Regions from separate parts of the Homo sapiens genome. Here region 2 is linked to region 1. The links are contacts of gene promoters, found by promoter capture Hi-C in blood cells and fetal thymus (Javierre and others, 2016). All regions are on one chromosome and are shown on one strand. The core of a region is centred on a gene start or on the middle of the fragment in contact, and the rest is flanking DNA. Distances in the headings are between cores, read along the strand shown.

Region 1 (3,649 bases), core at 778-3,277:
CAAATGACAGTGCCCAACTCTAGATATTTGCCAACTACTCCACGGAAAATTCTCCCACCCCAAAGAGAGTCCAGTCCATTTGACATAACTGTATACAGAAGTTTTACTTCTGTCTCCAACAGCTGAGTCTGAGGTTCATGGGGCCATTTTTGTCATTTGTCACCCTCTTTTTGTTGCTGTTCTCTAGGACTATGTCATTAGCAGATCAGAGAAAGACGCCTCATTCATACACAAGAATTTGCTGAGTACACACTGTGGAAGCAGGAATGTCCTAGGTGCTGGGAACATAGAGATCACTAGGATTAAGTCTTTATTTCAAATACCCTAGAGTTCTGCTCACCTGTTACAAGGAGTGCTACCTGAGAACAGAGTCCAGAGATTCTGAGCAAAAGCACCTGATTTCCTCATCGGGAACTTCCTTAATGGGAGAGCCAGGACAGCAGCCTAGCTTTGGCAGTTTGGCTCCATTCTGCTCTCTTTATTCAAACTATTGCCTATTGTGTACTGTCTTCCATAGGTGTCTCTTCTGGAAACTGTACTGTGTTTTCCCCCTCAATCTACCTCTTTTTAAAAGCCAGACGCCATCTCAAAAGGGCAAGCTGATAAAAATGGAATGTCGGGGCAGCTATAACCTCTCATCAACAAAGGCGGCTGCCGTGTCTAAGCAGCAGGTTGGAGGCTCACCCAAGGATTAAATAAATGAATTAACAGTTAGAGAGAGAATGTTTTTCAGGCAATATCCTTTGGCAGGATTGTAATTCGCATTCAGTCAAGCTCCCATTTCCCCTTGGCAAAAAATTCATTTAATATGAGAGGACAGTGTGGCTTATTTACCCATTATCATATTTGGCAGTTCTTAAAGTTGCAATGCACCTGTTACTAAAACTCCGGAGTTGTGTCAGAGCCTCAGAAACAGTAAGAGTGGGGAGAAAGTGAAGGAGGTTGAAATTGAAATTTAGGTTAATTTTCACAACTACCTTTGTTCACAGTTCCCTTTCCATTTTTCACTAATTTTTAGAACTTCTGAATTCTTACAAGTTATCAGAAGGAAGGATTTTTTTCTTTGTGGCTTAAGAGTTTCAAACAGACAAACAAAAAATCAACCATCTGTTTCCCTAATTTCCAAGCAATTAGCCAGGTGTTAATTACTCCTCTTGTCAGAGTAAAAGCTGAAGCTTCCATGAAATGTTCTGCTAGTTTAAAATGAGGCATATTCATTCACTTATACACAGAAGTACAGTTTGAGAGTTATGAAGTTTTATAGTTGGTAGCAGATTAGCTCTAATGGCCAGTAAGAAAATAAACATGCATCAGAAAACAAAAATTAAGCAACTATACATACCCAAAGACAAACTTTGTTAAATGCCCAAGTATACCAGATTGAACCAACAGGGATGTGGGGGCAGTTTCCCGGAGACCTGGAGCACCTTTTCATTGGAGTACTTACCCACACAAGTAGAATTCCCATTTCCTGCGAGAGTACCTTCAGGACAGCTCCAGTGCTGCGGTGCTGAGAGACTAACAAAACTAAATTTTGAAACTACTGGCAACAGAATGATAAGAGTGAGCAGCATAATCTTGATGAGTTTGAACTTTCAAAAGAAAACAGCTTGATTTTGCTGGAGCATGGCCCGGGCAAGGTGAGTATGATTGACCCCAGATGCGGCTGCCTGAGCGGAGGCCTCAGCCCTGGGGCATCTTTTACTCTCCTGTTGTGCTGTTGTCCTCCAAGCTCTTTCTTCAACTGAGAGACCTTCTGAATGCAGCCTGCCAAGGGAAGCCACAGGAAAGATTTCTTTATCTATGTTTCTTTGGAAGCCAGTAAGAAATACCTGACACCCTTATGACAAATTTCACAGAGTTTAACAGCCCTGCTCTGGCTGACTTCACTGTGACAGAGCAAGGCAAAGGCTTAGAGAGGAAAAAGAAAGGAAGAACTGATGGAAAGTTCCAGCTACAACCCTTGGATTGGGGCTGAAAGAAGAAATATGGAGATACGATTCCTCTCCCAACAGTTTCTCTTTTTGAAAAGTGGAATGACTCAGCTTTGCTTTTTAAAGCTCTTCAGGCTCCACCTCCTTTCCTTTAGTGACACTTGAGTGAGCCTCTGTTTGCAAATGCGAATGTGGGCAATTCCTCCACACAGGAAAGCAGGGATGACTGCCAAAGAGGAGATAACTCGCTACTCACCATAAATATCCTGGGCAGAACTGGGAGAGAGGAGTTGGGGGCTGTGGAGGTGCTCATGGTGAATGGCGGGAACTGCTAAATATTGGCTATGTTTTAATGTCTGGAAGGATGGAGACAAAATTAAACCATGCAGTATAAATCAATAATAAGCAGCACTGTTGATAGTTTGGATTGATAATAATTGATCATTCACATGAGCAATAGTAAAGATAGTTCACCTTCAGCCCATTATTTGAACGAAATGTCAATACCAGTGCACATTCCAGGAGCTTTATCTTATTTTTCTCTTTCTCCTGTATAGTTTATAGCGGAATTTGAAAGATTATTCTTTCCAAATCAAAGGGAAATCCCTGAGGCCAAATGAAGAGATACAGTATGGACAGACACCTTTTCTTTCAGCATGAGCATGATAAAACATCACGAGGGGCCAGGAGTGCAGAGAAAGGAGTGGATTGTTATTATAGGGACATTGGAAAAAATAAGCTAACAGTGCAAAGCTGGGAAGCACTGGAAATCCAGCACAGAGGAATGCTTTTCCTTCTAAGATAATTTAGGCTTTTTTTTTTTCACATCTCTGTGATAGAAAATAAGAACTGGACGTATCTGTTAGCTGTCTCCTCAACCACTTTCTACTTGGAGCAACAGTGGTTATTTCTTCAGGAGTACAACTAGGGCCCAAAAATACCCAGAAGGCAAACAACTTATAGCAGATTTGATGCACGATGGAAATTTCTGTCAGTTTACTCCATCCTGGAAAATGGACTTTCATTTAAGTTACCCTGAGGTAGTGTTCCAAGTGCTGGTCAAAAATGTACGTAAAAGCAATAGTCACAAAAACAACTGTCACACTAGTGAACACCCCATTACAGAGGAGAACAGACTAACTCTAAGCCTTTTACTCATACTTAATTATGTCCTGATTATTCTCCAAAGACTGGATCACTTTCCTGAAACAGCTTAAGTCAGGATTTCTCCTATTTCAGCCAGCCTCTGCCAGGCAGCTCTGAACCCTTACAGGAGAAACAGACCCTGGGGAAGGGGGAAAGAGAAGTCCTTTAGGTGGTTATGCGGAATATTCCATTGCTTTCTGGACTGAGTCAGACTCAAGACTCATAATGAGCATCCTACAAATAACCTGCACTGACTCTTCGAGTTACTAACTTTATTAATAAGCTTCCCTTTCAGCACAATACATTGCCAGCATCCCAGATGACAGCAATGGAAGGGGCTTAGAGGACAATCAAGCATCACGCTGTGTCAGTGGAGTGGAGTGGAGAGAATGATATGAAGACAAACATGAAATGATCCACAGCTCTGTTCTGTTTGGATTTGGAATCTCTCATATTATTTTTGGTTGGAAAAAGGTTTGCTTTCTTAATTACATGTCACCTGGGCTAATGTTGTCATTAATGTTGAGTACAAGCTCCCTAGGAGATGACGGAGTCAACAGAGGTATAGC
Region 2 (3,608 bases), core at 725-3,224, 500 kb after region 1:
GTTGTTATTTGATTATTATCCATCTTTTCTAATGTGTACATAGAAGAAAGAGAAGAAACCCCCTTCCTACATATATATTTTTTGTTTTCTTAACACTTGTTGTAGATGGTGATTGATCATTTATACAGGAGATTGCCTAAATAATGTATCTTTCGGAACAGACCATTTTTTATTTGTTCATTATTATTCTGCACCACCTTCCATACCTAGAACTTTTCCTGATACCTACTAGGAGCTTAACAATTAATCATTGAATGAAATGATAGCCAAGTTGATTAGACTTTTCCTTCTCAATTCTAAAGAATTGCTGATTTCAATGAGTGCCTAAGTAGCACTGGAAATAACATGTCAGGATGTCTGAACACTTCCTTTCTCCTTTGTCTTCTAGCTTTATCTTAGTCTCTTTCAAAATCTCAGTTGCAGGATGGGTATGCTTCTAGCACTTTGAGATGGAGAGTTTCACGGATTCCCATGATCTTGCTTTAGTGTGCTTATCTGCTTATCTCTCTTCATGTCCACTCACCTATGGGCCCTTTCCTTTTCTGTCTGTCACTTATATAGCTCATGTTCAAATCCCCTCTTCTCCTCTTCTTAGGCCAGTCTCATAATGTTTCCGACATCTGGTATGGTTTAAAGGAACTCTTGCCTGGAAATAGAAGTTCTTTCCAGACCATGATATAAATTTCTAGTAAAAGCAAATGAATGAATATATAGCAAGAAACAACAATTCACAAGGAAGTTGCCCTGGAAGTGGGCTGTTGTAGTAAAAGGAGGCATTTGCCTGTTACTGAGTCCCAATAGCCTGATCACTCTTGCCCAATCAGGAACTTTCTGTCACATTGTGCTGTTTGCCATTGCAGTGCTCAGCAGACTGAGGATTACAGTATGTGCATTGGCACTTGTTATACAGCAAGTGCAAACAGCTGGGTTTCTTGCTGTTCATGAGTGCCAAGATATTATTCCTCATAAGACTTTTTAACTGCTTTTGCAGTTAGTAACATCAGTGCCTGGGAAATCAAACATTTTATCTAGTGGTTTGTTAACTTAATGCTATTTTCCAGATGTTTTTTAGGGCTGTTCCTCCAATGTTGATTTGTGGTGGCGTTGATATTTTCTTTCTATAGCATTTTATTATTTTTGAGCAGTGATATTTAATTTAGTTTGGGGAAATGTCTTTTCCAAACTTTTGTTTCTGATGACACACAGTTATTTTGAATCTTGTGTCAATCCCACAAACTACAGGACTTGGCCTGATTATAGACATGACTAGACAAAAGAAGCTCTAGAAGAGCTGCCACACCAGACTTTCACTTTTATTGAGGTTACCACTCACACTGATAGATTACAGGCCCATGGCATTTTAGAGTCAGAGACATTCTTTACTCAGATCCCCTCTTTATTCACAACAAAATAACTGGAACTTATAGATGTCAAATAATTTTACCTTAGCCCACACAGCTAGCTGTTAGTAAAATCAGAACTATGACCAGATCTCCTAGGTACAGGGGAGAGGAAACCTTTTTTCCATGCTTCTCACCTGGAGGCGTATGTGTGAATCCCCTTACCCCCTTTAGTGGCCTGAGGATTCATTCATTGGCAAAGAAGTCTCCTGACAGCATTTTGAAGAGGCAGAACAAACTCCTGCTGCCAGTCTACAGGAGCCATCACTCTTTCCCAGTGAGCAGCTGGCATGTGGCCAGCCTTCCCTTTCTGCAGCTTGGACTGCTAAAGTATCACGTGGATGGAGCAGCTCTGTGCAAAGCCACTTTTCCAGAACTGTTTCCATGTCTCCACTCCCCAATCCATCCTTCTCCCCACAAGCTCTCTCCTACCACACAAACACACCAAGGGCCTCTTAAAGCTTTCTCCATCCATAGTGAGAGAGAGAGGGGGGAAAGAATCAAGTTTGGTATGCTGGAACATACATGTGAGGCAGAAAAGTTCTGAAAGTTGAGAGCAGCTTATAAATAACTCAGGTTAGATGTTGCCGATGATGGGAAGTATATATAGGAAACACCATCATTTAAAAAATGTATTCTTTGAAAATGAAGAATGACAGCATACAGACCAAACTCCCAAAAGCTTAACAGAAATTCTCATAAAACTGTAGGTAGACTTACATTATATTACACAAATTTTAAACTCTGGATCTGGGCCGAAAACATCACCTGCTTTAGGTCTTCAAATAGACACTTAAGAGCTATGGAATAGTACAATTGACCGGGAAAACACTTTAAGATTTGGTTGTAATCTACAGACTGTCAGCTTAGGGGTAACTGGTAAAGTAATTTGTGCTCTCCTTTTGTCCATTTTAATTGATGATATTCCTCTGCAGCAAGCCTTACAGGAGAAATCGAAACACAGCTGCTACATTGTAAGTCCACAAGTGAAATAAGCAGTGTCCAGTGGATAACAAGAAGGCTCCCAGAATAGCTCCTCAAAAAATCTGCCTTCTTCCTTTACTACCAAGAATCCTAACCTGTAGGCTCAAAGATGATTCAAACATTGAGGGCAGTGGTACTTGGGATTCAAAGGCACATTGGTGCAGAAAGGAGCCCATAGCATGCTGTTGACAATTTGACCAGGTGAGTCAACAATAGCAAAGAAGGCCTAGAATATGAGCTTTGAAATCCGAGTGCAAAGTCACCCCTACGAGAATATACCTGATTTATTTTGTTTGATTATATTGACACTTTTGCTATTTGTCATCATTTCAGCATGCATGCACTTAGATTTGTTAGTCCCACTGTCCTGTAACATCTCCCAATCCAGAACACATTAATGATCAGTAGACTGTGGCTGTCCAGTTTGGTGTCACCTTTAAGGGGCTCCTCTCTCCACGTAGGCCAGGCAAGACTTCACTGCACATTTACAGAACAAGGACCTTCTGTCTCAGATGCCTGACTCACCAGCTCCACTGCCCTGCATTCCGTTCTCTCACTCTCTTGGCTTCCAGTGTTGTTGCCAGTGGTTTGGGTCCTCACCCTACTCTTTCACCTCAATGCTTAATATAGCCATGTTTGGCTTTTGAATTTGCTTTTCCTCTCATCTACATTTTCATCTCTCCACCGTGGCTTGAAGTAATCACAATTTTGGGATAACAAAGCCATTCTATGCTTGGCTTTGGTCAGTCCCTAGAATTTACCAAGTCACAGCCAGGTGAGGTGGCTCACGCCTATAATCCCAGCACTTTGGGAGGCCAAGGCGGGCGGATCATAAGGTCAGGAGTTCAAGACCAGCCTGGCCAACATGTGAAACCCCGTCTCTACTAAAAATACAAAAATTAGCTGGGCGTGCCGCCTGTAATCCTAGCTACTCGGGAGCCTGAGGGAGGAGAATTGCTTGAACCCAGGATGCGGAGTTTGCAGCGAGCTGAGATCGCGCCACTGCACTCCAGCCTGAGCAACAGAGTGAGACTCCGTCCCAGAAAAAAAAAAAAAGGATTTACCGAGTCACTTCCTGCCCTTTGTTATGGACTCACCACCAATCTGTCCCAGCAAGGCCCAAATACTGTTTAAGGAGTGATGGTAGTGAGTAGCCTTTTAAAAAGTTTATTCAGGGAGGTTGAAATAAAGAGGTTGGACATGTAAATGGGGAATGAAACAATG

Evidence for each region. Contacts are between HindIII fragments. The CHiCAGO score rates a contact against its expected background, and 5 or more counts as called.
Region 2: a contact is called between a fragment that was not itself captured here and the fragment with the promoter of EGF in region 1, in 3 of 17 cell types (total CD8 T cells, naive B cells and erythroblasts). The highest score is 6.2, in total CD8 T cells.

What each region holds. Positions count from the first base shown.
Region 1 is chr4:109,911,261-109,914,909 of GRCh38, reverse strand. EGF (epidermal growth factor) reads right to left here and starts at 2,027. Exons shown (of 24, transcript NM_001963.6): 1 at 1,448-2,027. The coding sequence starts at 1,574. The HindIII fragment of the contact is 2,188 bases long and covers 1,178-3,365 here.
Region 2 is chr4:109,410,281-109,413,888 of GRCh38, reverse strand. No RefSeq gene overlaps it. Among named protein-coding and RNA genes, the nearest start is that of SEC24B, 22 kb to the left of the region's middle. The HindIII fragment of the contact is 221 bases long and covers 1,864-2,084 here.